Regions from separate parts of the Homo sapiens genome. Here regions 1 and 2 are each linked to region 3. Evidence: promoter capture Hi-C in 16 types of primary human blood cells and fetal thymus (Javierre and others, 2016). All regions are on one chromosome and are shown on one strand. Each heading gives the region's core, a stretch centred on a gene start or on the middle of the fragment in contact. The rest is flanking DNA. Distances are from core to core; before and after follow the strand shown.

Region 1 (3,159 bases), core at 28-2,527, 270 kb before region 3:
AAACCCTATATACCCATCACCTGGCTTTAACACGTACCAGTTGATTGCCAGTCTTATGCCATCTGTACTATACCCACCTACTCCCAGATTATTTTGAAGCAAATTTCAGATATCACATTATTTCATCTATTCAATTGGGTATCTATTCAGTAAATATTTCCATGTATTTCTCTAAGAGAGTTTTACAAAAACCATAATCACAATGCCATTATCATACCTAAAACATTAACAAAAATTCCTTAATATCATAAAATATCCAGTCAGTATACATGTTTCATATTTCCTTAATTGTCTTCTGGTTGTTGTTTTGCAGGTTAAATTTGGATCCAAATAAGTTTCTTACATTATGATTGATTGATAGGTCTCTTGCATATCTATAGATTTTCTCCATGTTTCTTTTTTTCCTTGAATGATCTCTCTTTGCAATCTTGTGTTGAAGAGAATGAGTCATTTGTTATGGAGTTCCCCACAGTCTGGATTTTGCTAATTGCATTCCTCAGGTGCCATTTAATATGTTTCTCTGTTTCTTGTATGTCCTGTATATTGGTTGTTAGATCTAGAGTCTTGACTGGATTCAGAGTCAGTTTTTTTCCACAGCCCATTTCATAGACTGTGTGTGAACTTCCACCAGGAGGTTCATAATGTCTGGTTATCTGGTACATTCACTTTTAAAAGCTTTCGATGCTGTAGTTTGCAAATCATTTTAACTATTGAGAACTTGATACTCAAGCACAAAGCTGTTTTATCTGGAGTGGGTATGAAAGGCCAGAGCCCCATGTCCCTAAGCTACCCCATCACAAGTCTTCTGGCTCCTGGTATCCCTTAGGAAACCTTACGGGAATGCCAAGTTGCTGGAAGAACTTAGTTTGAAAACTACTGGTTTAAGCAATGTTTGAAGCAGTATTAAACTTACAAACTGAAAGTTACTAGCAGAGACCAATAGCTTTTAATAATATAATTGGGATTTTAGGGAAGGTAATTCTTTAGTCCCTGGGACAAAAGACTTCGTCTTTAATTTCACAGTCCCGAAGTCTAAGATGTCAACTATTAATATAGAGCTCCTGCTTTTTGAGTATTTTTAGGATTTTTTTTCCAAAGATGGAAATAACTTTTCTCCCTAATTAGAAATGTAATAAATGCCCATAATGAAAGTAAATATTTAGACCTACACTGCTTCACCTCAGTACTACTGAGATTTTGTGCCAGATAGTTCTTTGTTGTGGAGGCTGTTCTATGCATTGTAGGATGTTTAGCAGCACCCCTGGCCTCTACCCACCAAATGACAGTAGCACCCCTACCCCATTTTGACTAGAAATGTCTCCTGATATTGCCAAATGTCCCCTGGTGAGCAAAATTCCCCCTATTCCCCTATTTGAGAAACTTTAGTTTAGACAGATCAGAAAAGTATAAAAAACAAAGTAAAAACTACCCAGTTTACAGGTTTCAGTCCATAAGATACAGAAGAGAACATGCAAGACTAGAAATGGAGCTAAAAGCCATGTACAAATAACTGGCATAAAACCTTGGATTTTAAAGCATGAAATGGGAATACATGAGTCACTTGAATGGTCTATTATGAGTATATAGACCTTATAGAAGGTAATGGAGACAGCAATCAGTTTAGGTAACTCCTGCGTAAGATGGGACATAGCAAGATTAAACTGTGTGATCATAAGCTGCCCCTCTTTGAGATGTGCAGCTTGCCTGAGTTGGCCTTTCTTTGTGTGCCTTCTGTGTGTAGTGATAGGTACATTGCAGGCTGTCAGAATAAACAGGTGTGGCAGAGGATTGTTGGACAAACCTTGTACATGTATAGTTGCTGAAAAGCCAGAAGTTATTTATAACTTCATTCACCTTGTGGAAGTAAAGGAAAAGCTTTTTCTTATCTTTTATAGATATTTATTTCTCAGAATTAAATTCTTTATATTATGCCTAGAAAAATGTAAAAATTCTACTGAATTTTTTCAAATTGTTCAAAATTCTATTGAAGCTTTTTAACTTTGGGGAAACCAAAAGAAATGCTCTTTTGGATTTTAGTCATTCAGGGTCATGTAACTAAAAATGCAAGTTCTTTTTTTTTTTTTTCCGTTTTAAGTGGAGTTTATTTAACACTAAGAGATAAAGGGTTGTTAACAAACACAATGACAAATGGACATCTGATTGGGATGAGGCATTATCCTGTACACATAATGTTGATATTTTTGTGTACCCTCAGTGCATGGCATTTACACATAGAGCCACTACTGCACAGCACAAGAGTATCTGAAGAGGCTGAATCAGAGTAAGGCTGTTTAAAAGACTGAAATTTTTTAGTATATATATTCTGCATGAAAACAGAACTTTTGAACTGGCAGGTAGAAGGCAACTCTGCCAAACACTACAGTTAAAGCCCCCACTTTAGTGCACAGTTCCACCCCTTCCATCTGCATGCGTGACACATTAACAGTATTTAAAGGTAAACGAGGCACTTTGTGGCAACTGCAGCCATCGTTATGAACATATTGCACAAAATTTCTAGAACTAAACATTTAACTTGTACCCTACTTTTATAAAATTGCAAGTTTTGTGTAGTACCTTAACTTTATTATGAAGTAGTATATCAGATAATACTTTAAGGTTATTTGTTGGCCCTTTGTGGAAGGTGGACCTTACAGTTAATGGCAGGCAGATTGGTATGAAGGAGTAGGGTTGGGTGTGGGATCTGGAGGCAGGATTAAAATGAGTTTGTAATGGGAGAAATGGTGTCTACCTTATTATCTTTGCCTTGGGCTGTACTAATCTCAGACGGTGTATTTCATGATAGAAAGTTAACAAAGAAATTTAAAAATAAACCTCTGTTAGAATGTGTACTCTTTTTAGCGTAAGACCTCTTTAATGTTATTCACACATTTGACACCAAAGTAGTTTTACCTGAACTCCTGATACAAATGGGAGCATCAGGGTTTAACCTGGCCTGGTCACTGTTCTCTTCAGAATTCCCTCCTTGCTGTGTCCTACAGATTGACTACTTCAACAATCAGATCATTGTTGACCTCGTGGAGCAACAGCACAAAGGGATCATTGCAATCCTTGATGATGCTTGCATGAATGTCGGCAAAGTCACCGATGAAATGTTTCTTGAAGCACTTAACAGTAAATTGGGCAAACACGCCCATTTTT
Region 2 (3,421 bases), core at 253-2,752, 290 kb before region 3:
GTTTAAATTATTATGTTAAGCCCTGAACAATTTTTCCCCCCAGGGGAAAGTGGAGCTGGTAAAACGGAAGCCAGTAAGTACATTATGCAGTATATTGCGGCCATCACCAACCCCAGTCAGAGAGCAGAGGTTGAAAGGTAAGAGCACTCTAATAATGGGGAGGAATTCTTAGCACTCTGTTTTCTCTATGGACTTGGCTAGACCTAAACTCTAGGGGTTGAGCATTTTGGGGGTCTAAACCTATGGGCTGAGCATTTTTTGATGATTAAGCTACTTTGATTCTCTTAAGTGCATATTGTCTCTGTACTTTTATTTATTTCACTGTATCCATTTCTAGATTTGTTTTTAATAGAAAAATAATACTATGGTAAGCTTTACCTAATTATGAGACCAAAAGAATCATTACTCTGAAACAGTTGAAAGTGTTCCCATCCTGGTTTATTACTGTTGACTTAAATGTGGTCAGCAGAGCTGTTATAATTTACACTGGTAGGTTTTATTGTTCAAACTCTCACAGGTTCCTTGCTCTTTGCACCACATCAGGGTTTTTAAAAAACTGTGTTCTGAGAGAAGTGGGACTCTGGAAGGCAGACCCATGCCTTCCCATCATCATCATTACAACATTCAGAATCCACTGACAGTGGAATTTCTGAACAAGATTCATTTTCTTTTTTTCTTTTTTTGAGATGGAGTCTCGCTCTGTGGCCCAGGCTGGAGTGCAGTGGCGCGATCTCAGCTCACTGCAAGCTCCGCCTCCCGGGTTCATGCCATTCTCCTGCCTCAGCTTCCCGAGTAGCTGGGACTACAGGCACCGGCCACTGCGCCCGGCTAATTTTTTTGTGTTTTTAGTAGAGACGGGGTTTCACTGTGGTCTCGATCTCCTGACCTCGTGACCCGTCCGCCTCGGTCTCCCAAAGTGCTAGGATTACAGGCATGTGCCACCGCGCCCGGCCGAACAGGATTCATTTTCTAAAAGGATTTCATGCCATACTGTGCTATTGCTCATGGGAAGATGAGTAATAAAGCTGATCTCTACTGTCTGGGGCCCAGCATTTAGGGGAGCAGCTGGCACATAGTATTTGCTTAACAAATACTTAAGGGATGAATGGATGATAGCTATAAAGCAACAAGACTCACTTTCTTATGTGGTGCAGCCTTTTTGAAGAGAGAAACTGTTTTCCTAATTGGTTACTTCAAAGCTCAGTACTAATTTAGTAAAGAGTCCCACCTCATCTACACATAACAATCTTCAGTTTTATAAATAGGAAGAAAGGATATTGGGTTGATGTAAAAGAAGAGAACTTACACTTCACTACCCTGCGTAGCCTTTCTTCTTTTCATCATATTGGGCTGCATTGCTGGGCCAGGAGAGGCATTTTTCTTAATTGTAACATATCCCTCCTTCTTACTCTGACTTTACAATCTAGTTTGACAAGGACAGGGATATGTGTAAATTTTCTTAATTTCCTTAGGAGCTCAGGAGAGCAACTAGATGAGAAATAAATTAATTTCACACCTACAATAGTAGAGTAAGGCATATATAAATTTACTAGTCTTTCACAAACATATCTTATCACAAGCAGTTTCCCCCCACACACATATTTTTAAAATATGCTTTCATTTATGAGGCGATAAGGTTGAACTCTCCAGTATTAGCGGGAGTAACAGTAGATCTTCTACATCAAGTTATTTCAGAGGCCAAAGTTATTTCTGCAGGTATGCCTGTATAAGAAGAATTTTATCAGTGGAATGAAAACAAGGATATAGCATGAAGTTTAAAATGTATCCATTGGGAGGGACTGCTGTATAGAAAGTTAGCATTCGTCGAATAAAGAATGCATTAAATGGCTGGTACAAAGGAGAAATTCCATACAGCTTCAAAGAAAATAATGAGCAATTTCTGAACTAGTGAAGATTAAATTTATGATGTATAACTAAGTACAATAAAATGTCACAATTCCAGGTTTTATAAGCAAGTGCCTTAAAAATTGTATCATTTTCTGTATCACCTATTCTTTCCCTTTTCAGAACACATCTTTTTAAAAATTTTCTTTATGTAGATAAAATATGTACATTTATAAAATGAAAAACAAAAATTACAGAATTAAGTTGAAGATGTAAAAGTTCCCTGAAATCCTACCTTGCCCATTCCATCAGTCTCCTGTCTAGATAACCATAGTAAGGTGTGCTGATCCCTCCAGATTTTTAAGCATTTGCTGATACATGTGTATGCACACACACACACACGTGAACATACACATACACACACAAGGATCCTGCAATGCATGTTATTTGACAACTTGATTTTATATTCATTAATATATGCTGGACATTTCCATGTGAGTACATATTGATGTACCTCATTCTTTTTAGCACCTGTATAGTATTTCATTATATTGGGAAACAAAAATTTATTTTTATCCCTATTGGTGGACATTAATTTGTTTGTTTTTTTTTTGATATTGCAAACAGTGCTGGAGTTAGCATCTTTGTATAAATATTTGTATGTGGTTTAGCAAAATCCAGTTTTTAAAAAATTCTAGTCTCTATAAGTTTTTATAATGACTTTCATTTATCTGTGTTAAAGAGTGAAGAATATGTTGCTTAAGTCCAACTGTGTTTTGGAAGCTTTTGGAAATGCCAAAACCAACCGTAATGACAACTCAAGCAGGTTTGGAAAATACATGGATATCAACTTTGACTTCAAGGGTGACCCTATTGGTGGGCATATCAATAACTACTTACTAGAAAAGGTAAAATATGCTTAATTTCTGAGGGTAATGTTTTAAGTGCTGAATGTTTAAACAAATTATATTTATAGAATTTATTTTATTGACTCAAAATAGCTTTAAATCCTATTCTCCCTTCTTCATTAGCTTTTTATGATAAGGTATTCTCCTTTTGTCTTCTCTTCTTAGCACTTACACTGTCAAGTTGGAAAAAGTTGTGGACTTTGTAGATAGATTTAGCTATGCGTGTGAATGGGTGGGGGCACAGGTATGAGTGTGTGCCAGCTTCTGGGTAAGGTTTAACCGAAAGTCAATCTAAGACTAATCAGTTCTAGCCTTTTTATACATCACCATCTTCTATACATTTTAATTTTAATTAATTTGATATCTCATTTTCTTCTAGTTTCTATTTGTTCATTGCTTTATAGTAACATATATGTATTTTGTGATCTTACATCCTAATTATGAAGCGAACTGTATTTGGTCAGTAAAAACTTAAAATAGGCCCAATTTCTAGAGGATTCCAATTAGAATTTTCTTCTTGGGACCACCAGAGAGGTTGTGTCTGGTTTGGTTTTGTGTTTTTTGAGACAGAGTCTCACTCTGTCATCCAGGCTGGAGTGCAGTAGCATGAACATGGCTCACTGCAGCCTCAACCCCCCAGGCTCAAGCAATCCTCCCACCTCAGCCTC
Region 3 (3,321 bases), core at 813-3,312:
TAGATTGAAGATGTCCCCGGGTGGCGGGGATCTTGCCTCACGACCCCACTGGCAGCTCAGTTAGGGTGGCTGGCTCCAGGAGCCTCTGGGAGAGTGAATAACTCCACACAGGAGCCAGAAAAGGGCCTCCAACCAGAAACCCCAATTCCTCCCTGGGCCAGGCAGCCAGAGGCCCCTCTCTAGCTCCATACAGGGTGCAGCCGGCAGCCTTGCCTACCCTGGACCCAGCAAGGGCACAGGCGGCAGGGGCAGGTCAGTCCTTTGAGTTCCCCAAAGTGGGAGGTCAGTGGCCTGGGTGGCTCTGAATACATCTTCTGGGTTTTGCGCAAGGCTCGTGAGTTCAAAAGTGCCCAGAGTTCTTGGCAGGGATGAAAAAAACCCCAGGGAGAGACTGTGGGAAAGGTGAGGCCCTTGGTGGCTTTGCTAGACACATACTGTACACAAAACTGATTTAATAATAAATTCTTAAAAATGCATTGAATCCTTGAGCCATGACGCAGGCTACAGTGCTCACCGATCCAGGCCTAGGAGGAGCCGCTTCTTGTCCTCCTGGCCGCTCTCGTTCTTCAGGTCGGAGAAGACCTGTGTGAAGTAGTGTGGGTCGGCATTTATCTGCAGCATCTTTGAGCTCATGAGGTTGATGACAGAGAGGCAACGGTCCCAAAAGGCCTCCTTGCAGCTCTCCACCAGGAAGGGCTTGAGCGGGTAGGAGATCTCGTTGCCCATGTAGGAGTAGGAGAGGTACAGGCATGTCAGCAGGACGGCCTGGAGCTCGTGATCCGAGCCCACCTCGGAGGAGATAACATCCCTGCAGAGCATGTAGAGGAAGACCACGTTGGCCGGCGTGATGAAGCCCTGGTCCTGCCAGCCCTGCAGAAGCAGCGAGCGGTCCACGCTGCGCAGCCAGAGCACGGGGTCCGTGGGGGACAGGTGCTTCAGGCGGTAGCACCGGCGGCAGAGAAACTCACCCAGGCAGCGAAGCAGCTCACTGGTGGACGCCTGGACGATGACCCGTTTGGGCGTCCCTGCGGAGGTGACGGCAGGGTGAGGGGCTTTCTTGACTGAGGAGGAGCCCCCGGTCTGGGAACCCGAGAGCTGGCTGGCCGGGGGTGCAGGCGGCTGGGCCGGTGGGGGCTGGGCGAATGTGGACAGGTTGGCGCACGACAGCGACTTCTTCAGGTTCTCATTGTTGAGGTGCGTGATGTTGTTCTGGTAGCTGCTGTTGGGCTGCACCTTCTTGGAGTTCTTCTTCTTGGCCGACACGGCCACGATTCTCTTCCAAGGCAGCACGGAGATGATGGAGTGGCGCTTCAGGTTCTTGTCCTTGGCGTTCTTGCTGTTCTGTACGGCCGTATAGTGGCCCACGGTGGCCGCGCCATCCTCAAACAGCGTGGCCTTCCGGTAGCTGGGAGACAGGGACAGCACCGTGCCCATGGTGCTGCTGCGCGCCGGGCGGGGGCTCGCGCCCCTGCGCGCCCAGCCTGCCGGCCGGAGGGATAAAACCGCTCACCGAGCCTGCGGCGGCCCCGGAGAGGAGGCGGGGGCGCTCCCGGGAAGCGTGCTGCCCCCTTGGATCTGCCTGGAAAACAAGATGGTTCTTAGCGCCAGGCTGGGCTCCGCGCCGCGCCCCTGCGCCCCTGCGCCCCTCCGCCCCGCGCCTCGGCGCACCCCGCCGCCCCAGTCCCGGGCCCTACCCGCGCCCCCGCGACGCAGCCTCGCCGCCTCCACTGCAGCACCCCCGCCCGCCGCCGCCGCTGCGGTCCCCAGGCGCAGCCGGGAGGGGCCCGGTCGCCGACGGAGGCGGCCGAGGACCCCCGCCTGGACACCCCGCACGGGCGCGACCCCGGTCTCCGCTCCCCAGGGCCAAGGACGGCCGCCCAGCGCAGGCTTACCCGGCAGGCGGCAGCTCCTGCGCTCCGCGCCCTCCGCAATGCGCGCCGCGGCCCCGCCGCCGCGGTCCCGGCGCTCGGCGGCGCTCGGGGGCGCTCGGCGGGGATCGGCTGGGCTCGCGCTCGGCGGCGGCGACGGCGGCGGCGGCGGCGGCGGCAGCTAGGGAGCTTCTGTCCAAGGTTCTGCAGGCACCGCAGCCCCGCCCCCCGCTCGGCCGCCCGCACCTTCGCCGCCGCCGCCGCGCTCCCGCTCCCGCTCCCGCTTCCGGCGCGCGCCTCAGCGCCCTCCCTCGCGGGGCGCGCGCGCCGTCCACGCTCCGGCCTGGTCTCGCCGGGGAGTCGCGGCCGTTGGTGTCCTCAGCTCGAGCCGCGCACGGTGCGGGTAGGACGCGGCAACGAGCGGGAGGCACCTCTACGCGCCGGGCCCCATCTAGGAGCCGGACTCCGCGGCTGCGGCGGGACACGCGGCGTCGGCCCGCCCCGCCCCTCGGGGCCGCCCCTCCCGCACAGCTCGCCGCCCGCTCCGCGCCGCCGCCCAACAGCAGCCCGGCCGCCGGAGAGTCCTCGGCGCCCGCGCAACCCAACTCTGCCGACGCGGGGCGGGCGCCGAGCAGGGCGGAGCCGAGGGCCGACCCCGCCCGCGTCCCGCCCAGACACGTGCTGCCTTTGTTCCCGCCGCGGCGCCCGCAGCTGCCGGCCGCGGGGGCACTCTCGGCCGAGTCCCTGCCCTGGCAGCGCGCGGCCCGCCCTCTCTGAGGCTGCCGCCCTGGCCTGGTGAGGAGCCCTCCGCCGAGGCCAGGGTCCGGAGCTCCCTCCTTCCACCTGACATCCCCGTCCCTGTGGAAAGCAGCCAGGGAGCGCGGGGAAGAAGGCCCTGGGCGGGGAGAGGCGACGCCTTTACTGAGGCCTCCCGAGTGCCACGCGCACCTCGAGTGGACAGTCCAATCGGTTCTGGCCACCCCTCCGGGGCCTCCGTTCCCTCATCATGGGTAGATGACCGCGGCCGAAGTGGGCCTCAGAGATCCAAGCCAGAGAAGCGTGGCCCGTAGCCAAGCCTGAGCCCGTCACAAATATGACCTCTAAGTTCCCACTCGCCCTCTTATTTGTCATATTAAAGCTGAAGCAACTGCCCCTCCGGCCAGCTTTCTGACCCTCTTAAACGTTTTCAATTCTAAGTATGTATAATTTGAGAACTTGATGCTAGCGAAATTGAGTAAAATTCTGTTTCTGAAAGCTGTTCCTGTCAGATGTGAATCCAGATCCTTCACAAAGGCTGTTGTTCATTTACTATTTTACCTTGTTTCTGGAGATCGAGTCAAAACTGACCACAAACCTGGGAAACAGGAAACTTAAGCCCTGTCTTAATCCAGATTATCTCTGGACCTAGAGATGAGGGAGTGGCTCTCCAGAGGAGAGGATGCCACCCAGTTAC

The links. The method cuts DNA at HindIII sites, captures the fragments that hold promoters and counts their contacts. A CHiCAGO score of 5 or more calls a contact.
Region 1: a contact is called between a fragment that was not itself captured here and the fragment with the promoter of CDK5R1 in region 3, in 16 of 17 cell types (M0 macrophages, megakaryocytes, total CD8 T cells and 13 more). The highest score is 40.2, in M0 macrophages.
Region 2: a fragment that was not itself captured here is called in contact with the fragment with the promoter of CDK5R1 in region 3 in 14 of 17 cell types (naive CD8 T cells, naive CD4 T cells, megakaryocytes and 11 more); the score reaches 16.7 in naive CD8 T cells.

Annotation. Positions count from the first base shown.
Region 1 is chr17:32,755,503-32,758,661 of GRCh38, reverse strand. It overlaps MYO1D (myosin ID), which reads left to right. Exons shown (of 22, transcript NM_015194.3): 11 at 3,000-3,159. Among named protein-coding and RNA genes, the nearest start is that of MYO1D-DT, 120 kb to the left of the region's middle. The HindIII fragment of the contact is 1,200 bases long and covers 678-1,877 here.
Region 2 is chr17:32,775,196-32,778,616 of GRCh38, reverse strand. MYO1D (myosin ID) reads left to right here. Exons shown (of 22, transcript NM_015194.3): 3 at 44-137; 4 at 2,588-2,753. Among named protein-coding and RNA genes, the nearest start is that of MYO1D-DT, 100 kb to the left of the region's middle. The HindIII fragment of the contact is 2,256 bases long and covers 375-2,630 here.
Region 3 is chr17:32,485,734-32,489,054 of GRCh38, reverse strand. It overlaps CDK5R1 (cyclin dependent kinase 5 regulatory subunit 1), which reads right to left and starts at 2,062. Exons shown (of 2, transcript NM_003885.3): 1 at 1,893-2,062; 2 at 1-1,579. The coding sequence starts at 1,434. The coding sequence ends at 511. RefSeq lists enhancers at 976-1,535, 2,775-3,276 and silencers at 1,423-1,712, 1,803-2,062, 2,173-2,702. The HindIII fragment of the contact is 10,728 bases long and covers 1-3,321 here.